2 separate regions of the Homo sapiens genome follow, and region 2 is linked to region 1. The links are contacts of gene promoters, found by promoter capture Hi-C in blood cells and fetal thymus (Javierre and others, 2016). All regions are on one chromosome and are shown on one strand. Each heading gives the region's core, a stretch centred on a gene start or on the middle of the fragment in contact. The rest is flanking DNA. Distances are from core to core; before and after follow the strand shown. Region 1 holds the start of ZZZ3 (zinc finger ZZ-type containing 3). Region 2 overlaps PIGK (phosphatidylinositol glycan anchor biosynthesis class K).

Region 1 (4,515 bases), core at 1,121-3,620:
ACCGACTCGGGCTGTCCTCCAACTATTATGAGCCTGACTATTCTTGCACCATGGCTCTTGCCTCACTGTCAACCTTCTACATTCCTCTTTTCTCCCCAACTTGTCCAATTCCATTTCAGTATCAACCTCTACACTCCCAATGTCCCCTTTTCCTCTTTCCAACATCATACCTCTCAACACTCACTTCTATTCCTCAACATTTCTACTTGCACTGTTACAACAAAAAACCACATTGCCCAAAGAGTGGACAATTCTCTTATGTGACTGGTCTGATAAATATTATTACTGGTAGGTTTGGCGGGGGGAAATTACAAAAACAACACTTACAAAATGATAGCCGCTTAGCAACTTCAAGTATATATACCTTTGTTTGTACTAACTACTAATGTCTACCACTCTCCAATTGAGATCACTAAGTTGCATGGTCAAACTATCATTTTAATCACAGTGATAAACTTTTAAAACGTCTGAAAAACTCCTATATAGTTAGGTTACAGTTTAGAATATATAATATATAAAGTTAAATACATAACACACATTAAAGATAAAAATATAAAACTCAAGTGATAAAACATTAATTTATTTAAATCTTGTTTTACATGTACTTTCTTTCTGTGCAAAGCTACCAAGCACAATAAATCAACTTTACTGCAAAAATAAGTTACTTGTGATATTTTCACAAGATTATACTACCAAAAAAATCAGTACAAACAAAAAAAATCTGCGTAAGTATGCATACGTAAGTCTTGACAAACAGGCATATATCACTAAATAAAAATTTAATTTAGTTAAAAAATGTTTACTGATTGCCAATATTGTGTTGGTACCCCATTAAAACAACACTTTCTCCCCTTCATTTAAGAAACAAAAACTAAACCAAAATATGGAAATATCTGGAATGATACACAGCAACCACAAAGGCTGGTTACAGAGATTTAAGACTGAGGAATGGAACTTTGTGGTACCGTGAAACAAGCACTGTGTTACTCTATACTATATACCTCTCTGTATTATGTATAGGAAAAAAAAACACTTTTGTAGTTTTAAAAAACAAACTATGAATAAATTAACTAGTCACCTGATTCGTTTTGTAATTAACTCCCCACTCCTTATTTAGTACTGCAACTACTAAATAAAATCCAAATACTACTTAAGAATACGAAAAAACAAAGGTATACTGTAAATTCACTTCTGAGACATTAGGGAATTGGAGAGAAATATTAAATTGATTTCAAACTCATTTAAGAAAAATAAAGCTCAAACTCTGATGCCAAAATTTATGAGTTTGCTCTTTACTAAAAAGTTGACCTGAGGCCGGGCGCGGTGGCTCACGCCTGTACAGTGCTGAAATCCCAGCACTTTGAGAGGCCAAGGCAGGTGGATCACTTGAGGTCAGGAGTTTGAGACCAGCCTGGCCAACATGGTGAAACCCCGTCTCTACTAAAAACACAAAAATTAGCCGGGCGTGGTGAAGCGCGACTGTAATCCCAGCTACTCGATACTCGAGAGGCTGAGGCAGGAGAATCGCTTGAACCCGGGAGGCGGAGGTTGCAATGAGCCGAGATCGCCCCACTACACTCCAGCCTAGGCGACAAGAGCGAGACTCCGTCTCAAAAAAAAAAAAAAAAAAATCACATGAAACAGTCTGTTACCTTAAATATATAACCTAAAACAACCATCCCTAAACTTCAAAGATGGCAACCTCAGTAACACAGTAGTAATTAAAACCCTACCGATAACTGAGTTAATAGGCACGTACAAAATGATGAAAAGCAGGATTTTATTCTGACCACAGGTGTTGTCAGAGACATAATGGGCCCTCCAAATACTGCCAAAAGTTACTGAAAATACGAAGTCAGGGTGATGAGTAAATGACACCCAGAGAAAATAGATGGGAGGAGTTCTGTTTCAGGAGACTGGAGTCAGGTACTGCAGCAGAAAACGCGACACAATAGTTAACCGGTCTGGAATACTTTAGAAAATGGCAAGAAGGGAAAAACTGACAAGAACATCTTAAAGTAAGAGGAACGGTATCCAATGGAATCATCAGGTCTGCGCGAGCACGGCTCCCGGACTTCCAGTGAGTGGGACAGGGTGGAACTATCACTGCGTGGGGAGAAGGACCTGGCTGAGGGGTGCATATGCTTTTGCAGGTGGTGGAGCGCCCGCAGGGGGATGGGGAGGGCAGTGTTGCCTCAATGGGGTTACTGTATTCCCTTCAAGACTATGGGAAGCTGATGCAGCACGTATCCCGGCACCAAGAGGCACTCGCCCCGGGCCCCTCCCTAACGACTTGCCTTGTAGAAAGAGTTGCAGGTCCCAGGCCCCCGGAACCCAAGGCTCCGCCATCCAGGACAACTGCTCTGCCAACGAGGTCCCGCGAGAATCGAGAGATCTCGCGATACAAACCCACTCGCATCTCGCGAGCTTCCACTAGACCCAACATGGCGGTACAGAAAAAAATCAGTATTTCGGAACTTAAAAAGCACTTCACTAACGGAGTAGTGAACATTTAAAACACTGAGACAGTAGGAAGTCTTTCCGCTTTATACGTCTCCTCCTTTCCCCTTGTACAGAAAAGCAGAAATCTTAAAAACCTCCGATTACCACGATTATACTACATAAACAGAGCGCAGTGCGCTGCCCCAGGCAGCCTCCCTGTCACGTGGAAACATTTTCGGCGTGCCCGTCACGTGGGCCGCTACTGAGCGAGCGCGCTCCCGACGCCCTCCCAAAAGCCCTCCCCGCCCCCCCTTTCGCCCGCGCACACGTGCGCGCGCACCCCCGCCCCACGTGGGGGCTTCGCCGTCGCAGCCGTCGCAGCCGTCGCAGTCGTCGCCTCCAGCCCACCCCCTCCCGGTACTTGGCTCCAAATCCGGGTCCCAAGCCGATCGTTTCCCACCCCCATTCCCTCCCCCTTCATTCTCCCTCCCCCGTGTCTGGCCCTCACCACGTGTCCCGAGCTCTTGCTCACCTTTCACGCGGGGTCGGACGCAACGGGCCACTTGGGGAGGCGCCGCCGCCGTGGCCGCTCTCCGCCCCCGCCACGGCACTTGCTCGGGTGGCCACCGCTGCAGGAAGCTCGATAGCGGCGCCGCGGCGCTTCCAGGTGGGTCCCCGCCTCCCGCTCCTGCCACTTCCCGCAGCACCAGCGGCTCCTTCCGGTCCCCTCCTTTCTCCTCGTTGGGACTGGCGGGCGGCGGCGGCGGCGGCGACCGCTGCTGCTGCTGTTGCTGCTGCTGCAGGCGCGCTCACTACACCGCCTGCTGGTAACCGCGGCCCGTGCAGCGCCCGCGGGTCGGGCGCCGCCGAGGCCCTCCCCGGCCAGTCCCTGCCCCTGGGCGAAGTTTGGTCTTCCGAGGGCGGGTTGCAGTCCATCCCTTGCAACCGTCCAACCTGGCCCTAGCAGAGGAAAGGCGTCCTCGTAGCTCCGCCATTGGAAATCGGCTTCATCCTGCCCTTTGTGGCCTCCTGAGAGATTTGTAAACCCCACCTCCCTTAGCACTGTGGTCTCAAGCCAGGAGAACATCCATACATGTATTTATGATCGTGCTTCTGCCTCGCCTCGTTCACCTCTGGCTTGTACCACAGCACGCAGGCTCGAACCACTTCGGGCCTTTGTGCTTGCCGATTTCTCTGGCAGAACATTTCCTCCAGATTTTTTTTAACTCCTCGATGTTCGATGCATATTTCAGGTCCCTTCTCAGAGGGCTGCCCAGACCACTGTATCCAAAAAAAGTACACCTGCACCATTGCTTTAACTCTTCACCTGCTTTTATTTCTTCATAACAGTTACAACTTCCAGACCTTATTTGTCAGTATCCTCACCACCAGAAATGTAAAATTTTTAAAAGCAGGGACTTAGTAAACTGTTTTGCTCATTGCTGTATCCCCAGAATTGTGTCTGGCACAAAGCAGTGCTCAGTAATATCAAAACAGATCTACCAACTATATTGAGCATGTAGGAAAATAAAGCCCAACACACATTAATGAAGATAAATAACTTCATCATTTATGAGCTGTGGAAAAACAGCTAAACCTCCTTCCGTGGCTATAAAGATTATGTTCCAAAAATATAAAATCCAGTGGTAGAAGCCGTTAACTGGGGCTCTTCTTTGACAATTGTCCAGTGCTGTTTCATTACTTTTGTTTTCCTTTGCAACACTATTTTTTTTTTCGGGCAAGTGGATACGTGTTGTGCCTTCTTTTATGTTGCTAATAAAAGTTATTAAATGTTTTAAATGGTGTTTTGTATTTTAGCTTTGAGTTCAACTCAAAGTAACATCTACTTCAAGAAAAAGGGTTACATGTTTTTAACACATCAAGTATTTATTGAACATACTAGTGTTTCTGGGTGGCAGTATGTCAAAAAAAAACGGGGGTGGGGGAGGCCGGGCGCGGTGTCTCAAGCCTGTAATCCCACCACTTTGGGAGGCCTTGACAGGCAGATCACCTGAGGTGTCAGGAGTTAAAGACCAGTCTGGCCAACATGGCGAAACTTCGTCTCTACTAAAA
Region 2 (4,836 bases), core at 1,673-4,172, 550 kb before region 1:
ATCCTAGAAAGGCAGAATGTAGTAATAGTTAAGAGAGCATACCTGGAGTCAGACAGCTAGCACTTCCACTTATGAGTTGTGTGACCAGATACAAACCTCTCCACATCTGTAGTCACATATAAAATGACTACATACTCCACAGCTGCTTTGAGGATTAAACAAGTTAATAAATTCAAAGTGCTTAGAATAGTGTTGGGTATTTATTAAATACTGGAAGTTTAAGAGAAATTGAATTGTATTTATTTACAGATAATTTAGATAAAATTATATGATAATTTATTCTTCTCATCCCTAAACATGTTCCACCTCTCCATTTATAGGTGTTCCTTTATGATCTATAATTAATTTTATTTTGTCTCCATAAAGAAGATGTACATCTTTTAAGATGTATAATCGGGTGGCTTATAGCTTTTGTTGCTTATTTTGTATTAATACATCTATAGACACATGCATATATCTATTATATATAAATAATATAGGAATATATACTATTGATTTCCATGTAATGATCTTTTATCTGGCAATCTTACTAAACTCTCTTATTAAATTTAATATTGGTAGATTCACTTAGATTTTTCCATTACATAGCATCTGTGAAAAAAAGGAAGGGAGAGTTCCTGATCCTCACACCTCCTATTTCTTTTCCTTACTCCATTAGTTGAGACTTTTTGTGCAGTAACAAATAGATGGGATTATAGCATGTATTCTTATCTTGTCCCCGATTTTCATCGAAATGCTTCTATAATTTCACACTATATAAAGTTTGCTGCTAGCTTTAGACACATTCCCTTTATTATCTCCCATTTATCTGCAGTGTCTAAGCCACATTGCCTTTTTAAAAAACATTATCATTTATGATTAATGATTTTATTCAAATGTTTTTTCTGTATCTACTGAAATAATTACAAAATATTTCTCATTTAATGTATTGATATGATGAAATACACTAGTATATTTTCTAATCCTGAATCATTCCTGTAATTTTAAGATAATTTCTATTTGGTCATGAAATGTTTTTATACATTACTGAATTTGAATTTTATTTAAGATTTGTACATCTGTGATCACAAGTGAGGCTGACTCTCTATTTTCTTCATTCTCTCTGTCTTGTTTTGGTTTCAGAATTATATTCGTTCCACCAAATGAGGTAGGAAGCTTTTTTATTCTGTTCATATTATGTCAGCACCTCAAGTGGTTAATAAATGTCAAATGTAAAAACCATCTAAGTCTGCTGTCTTGTTTGCAGTTTGTTGGGAAAGGGTACATGTTTTATACAATTAAAAAAGGAGTATCCTTCAGTTGAAGGCTTAATTTATTTCTTTTACTTACTTTCTTTCTAAATCTAAATATTACGTTAGCCACCTCCAAAGTGATTTTTATATCCTTATACTGAAAATGTCTCATGTAAATAGCACATTTTTAGGTTATGTTTTTAATTTAGTATGACTTTTTTCTTTGAAATAGGGTACTTGGTCCAATTACATTTAATGTAATAAGTGATATAGCTGGATTTACAACTACTACCTATTTTCTATCTCCCATCTGTTTGAATTTCCTTTTTCTTCTTTTGAATCAGCCAAATATTTTATTACATCTTTTTTTCTGCTATCAACTTGATAGGTGTATTTTTACCATTATCGTAACAATTACCTTGGACATTAGAACACCCAACTTGGACCTGGTAGTCTAATCAAACTGTTCAACATTACCATTTCTTCAATAATAGTAGTACCTTACAACACTTTGACTCCATTTGTCCTCCTGCCTTTGACCTTATTATTGTCATACATTTTAATTCTATGAATACTTTAAACTCAACAAGATGGTGGGGTTTTTTGTCTGATTAATAGTCAATTATTTTAATTGATATATTTACTGATTCTGGCTCTCTTCATTCTTTACTGAATTTTGTTGTTTCTCTTTATAATCATTTTATTTCTGGCTGAAGAATTTCATTTAGTTTTATTTTATTTCAAGTGCATTGGCAACAAATTCTCTGTCTGAAAAACATTTTGATTTCATCTTCACTTATGTAAGATATTTTTGCTGTGTAGAGAATGATAGGTTAAAAGTTTTCTTCCTTTCACCACTTTAAACATGTCATTCTATTGTTTTATGGTTCTGATTGTAATAATATGTCAGTATTAAAGATAATGTCAGGCTTTCCTTCTCTGTCAGGCTTTTAAGTTTGTTCTCTATGTTTTTTCAGCATTTTGACTATGATGTGGCAAATTGTGGTTTTCTTTGCATTCATTTTGCTTACAATGAATTAACTGAATATGTGGTCCGATATATTTCATTAGTTTAGGAAAATGTTTATTATCACTTTAAATATTGTCTGTTCTTCCTTATTTTCAATCTGTCATCTAGTTTGGGATGTTATTTACACACATGTTGGACCATTTTTCTGTGTCTAACATATCTCGTACTGTTTGTTTTTTCTGTGCTTCAGTTTCAATATTTTCTATTGTACTGTCTTCAAGTTCACTAATTCTATCATCTTCTGTATCCAATTTGCTGTTAAGCCATCGATTGAGTTCTTAACTTCAGATACCATATTTTTCAATATTAGAATGTTCATTATTTTAGTTATAAGCTCTGGTGAAACTCCCCACCTTTTCATCTATTTTCAAGAATATTTTTCCTATTTTCTTGAACATCTTAAACATAGTTATTTTAAAGTTTTTGTCTACTACCTCCAAGTTCTGGATCACTTCTGAGTTTGCTTCTATATTCTGTGTTTTGTTTTTCTCTTGGTATATGATTACGGTGTACTAGTAATTTTTAATTGATGGATGTAGGAAACTGCATACTTAAGAAAGGTTATATACAGTGTTATTTTCCACTTAAGAAGGTCCATGTGTTCCTCTGCTGGGCAGTTAAGAGTGATACTCTGATCACTTTTACTCATTCAGGGACTGAGCTGAATTTAGACCACCTGAAAATTTTGATAAAACTAATTCATTACACCTTAATGTGGCCCTATTCTAATGGTGAGGCCCTTCAAGGTTTTCAGTTGAAAGCCTGGCAGGTCTTTGTCTCAACACAGAGAGAGTAAGACTATAGAGATTTCTAATATAATTTTCAAAGGTTTCTGACTTACATTTTTGGACTATTGTCCTGCACAGCTTAAGAATTTGGCATGCCAGCCTCACTGAACTGCCAAAAGCTGTACTGATCACTCTGTCCCCGTTAGTAACCCTTTATCAGAGGCCAAGCCCAAATTCTCACCTATAGCGCAGAGGTATGTGACTTTTCTATGCAACTAATCACCTCAATCATTATAGTATGAAAGCAGCCATGATGATATGTAAATCAGTGAATAAGGCTGTTTTCCAATAAAACTTTATTTTAAAAAATAGGCAACAAGAAGATTTGGCCCATGGGCCATAGTCTGCTGACTTCTGCTTTTGCTGCACCCGGAAAAAGCAAGTGTACCCAAGAGAAAAAAGTGGCTAGAAACTGTCAGCATTAGTTCACCACAATCTCCAGAGCTGTCACCTCTTACCTGGTACATTCTTAAGGGGCTCTCATCCTGAAGATGTTTATCTCCTCAGTAATACAAGACTAGTAAATTCATAGCTCTGGTTATCAGATGTTTTTTGCTTAGTAATTTAGTTTCCCTTTAGTTTTAGAATTTGGCAAGTATTTTGAAAGGAAAATTGGTAATATGATTGAGGCAAATATCTTGAAAAGGAAAGTTATTTTGAGTGAATGACAATTATGTCACTCTAGCCTAACACAGTCACCAAAAATGTTGCTGGTGAAATTTCTCTATACTCTAGCAGTGGCCCACTGCCAAGCCCAGATTCTCAACCTTTGGTCTACTCCCAGAATTGGCGAATGATTACAGAGAAAAATTGGCTACAGATTCTCAGCTCATCTCTGAGAAGTTTCCCCAAATCTAGATTTTTAGATTCTCAGTCCTCATTGCTTCTACATCTGATATTTTTAAAAATACGATTTAATCTGCCTTTCCTAATTGTTCTTGGTGAGCTCATAAGCCTACTGCAAATTATTCCATCCTGTTCAGAAGTAGAAATTGTACACTACTACTTTTGATATTTTCATTATCACTTAGTCCCAAGTATTTTTTTAATTTTCATAGGTTTTTAAATATTATTCTAAGAATTATTCAAAGAGTGTTTTCAAATTCCCAAATATATGTTTTAAACAATTCTTTTTTACTCATGATTATAACTATTACACTGTGATCCGAAAAAAAATGCTCCTCAAGATTCCAACACCTTATGTTATTAAGACTTACTCTTTTGGCCTAGTATTGGTTAATATTTGTAAACATTACAGTTGGTCTTAAAGAGAATGCTTATTCCCTAATTGTTCAATTTCTTGGCTCAAGTTTATTGATTATGTTGCTTACATTTTTAATTTTAAAACTTTTGGATGGCTCTTTTATTGGTTTCTGATAATGTAATACTGAAATATTCCATTATAATGATAAACTTATCAACCTGTTTTTTAAATATGTAAATTTTTGTTTTAAATATTTTGTGGTTATATTACTAATTAAGAGTTTAACATGCTTTTCTCTTCCTGATGAGATAAACCTTTACTTAGTTATCTTGCTTATGATTAATAATGTTATATGTTATATACTCTATGTACTATGTACTATGTGTATACACATATATGTATATGTACTATGTATATATTTTACACTATAAGTATTTAAGCTTTCTTTTGGTGAGCAGTAGTTGCCTGTAATCCTTTCATTTTCAACTATTTAATATCATTATATTTTCTGTCTGTAGTTATGCCTCTTTTTATCCTAATGCAGTATTGTTATAAACTATTATTATTCACTTATTTAAAATG

Evidence for each region. Contacts are between HindIII fragments. The CHiCAGO score rates a contact against its expected background, and 5 or more counts as called.
Region 2: a contact is called between a fragment that was not itself captured here and the fragment with the promoter of ZZZ3 in region 1, in 3 of 17 cell types (monocytes, M1 macrophages and non-activated CD4 T cells). The highest score is 6.4, in monocytes.

The regions. Positions count from the first base shown.
Region 1 is chr1:77,680,288-77,684,802 of GRCh38, forward strand. ZZZ3 (zinc finger ZZ-type containing 3) reads right to left here and starts at 2,371. Exons shown (of 15, transcript NM_015534.6): 1 at 2,298-2,371. RefSeq lists enhancers at 2,427-2,506, 3,324-4,097, 3,527-3,626 and silencers at 2,887-3,306, 3,317-3,376. The HindIII fragment of the contact is 10,120 bases long and covers 1-4,515 here.
Region 2 is chr1:77,130,758-77,135,593 of GRCh38, forward strand. The region is part of intron 9 of PIGK (phosphatidylinositol glycan anchor biosynthesis class K); the gene reads right to left. Among named protein-coding and RNA genes, the nearest start is that of MIR7156, 73 kb to the left of the region's middle. The HindIII fragment of the contact is 3,539 bases long and covers 1,154-4,692 here.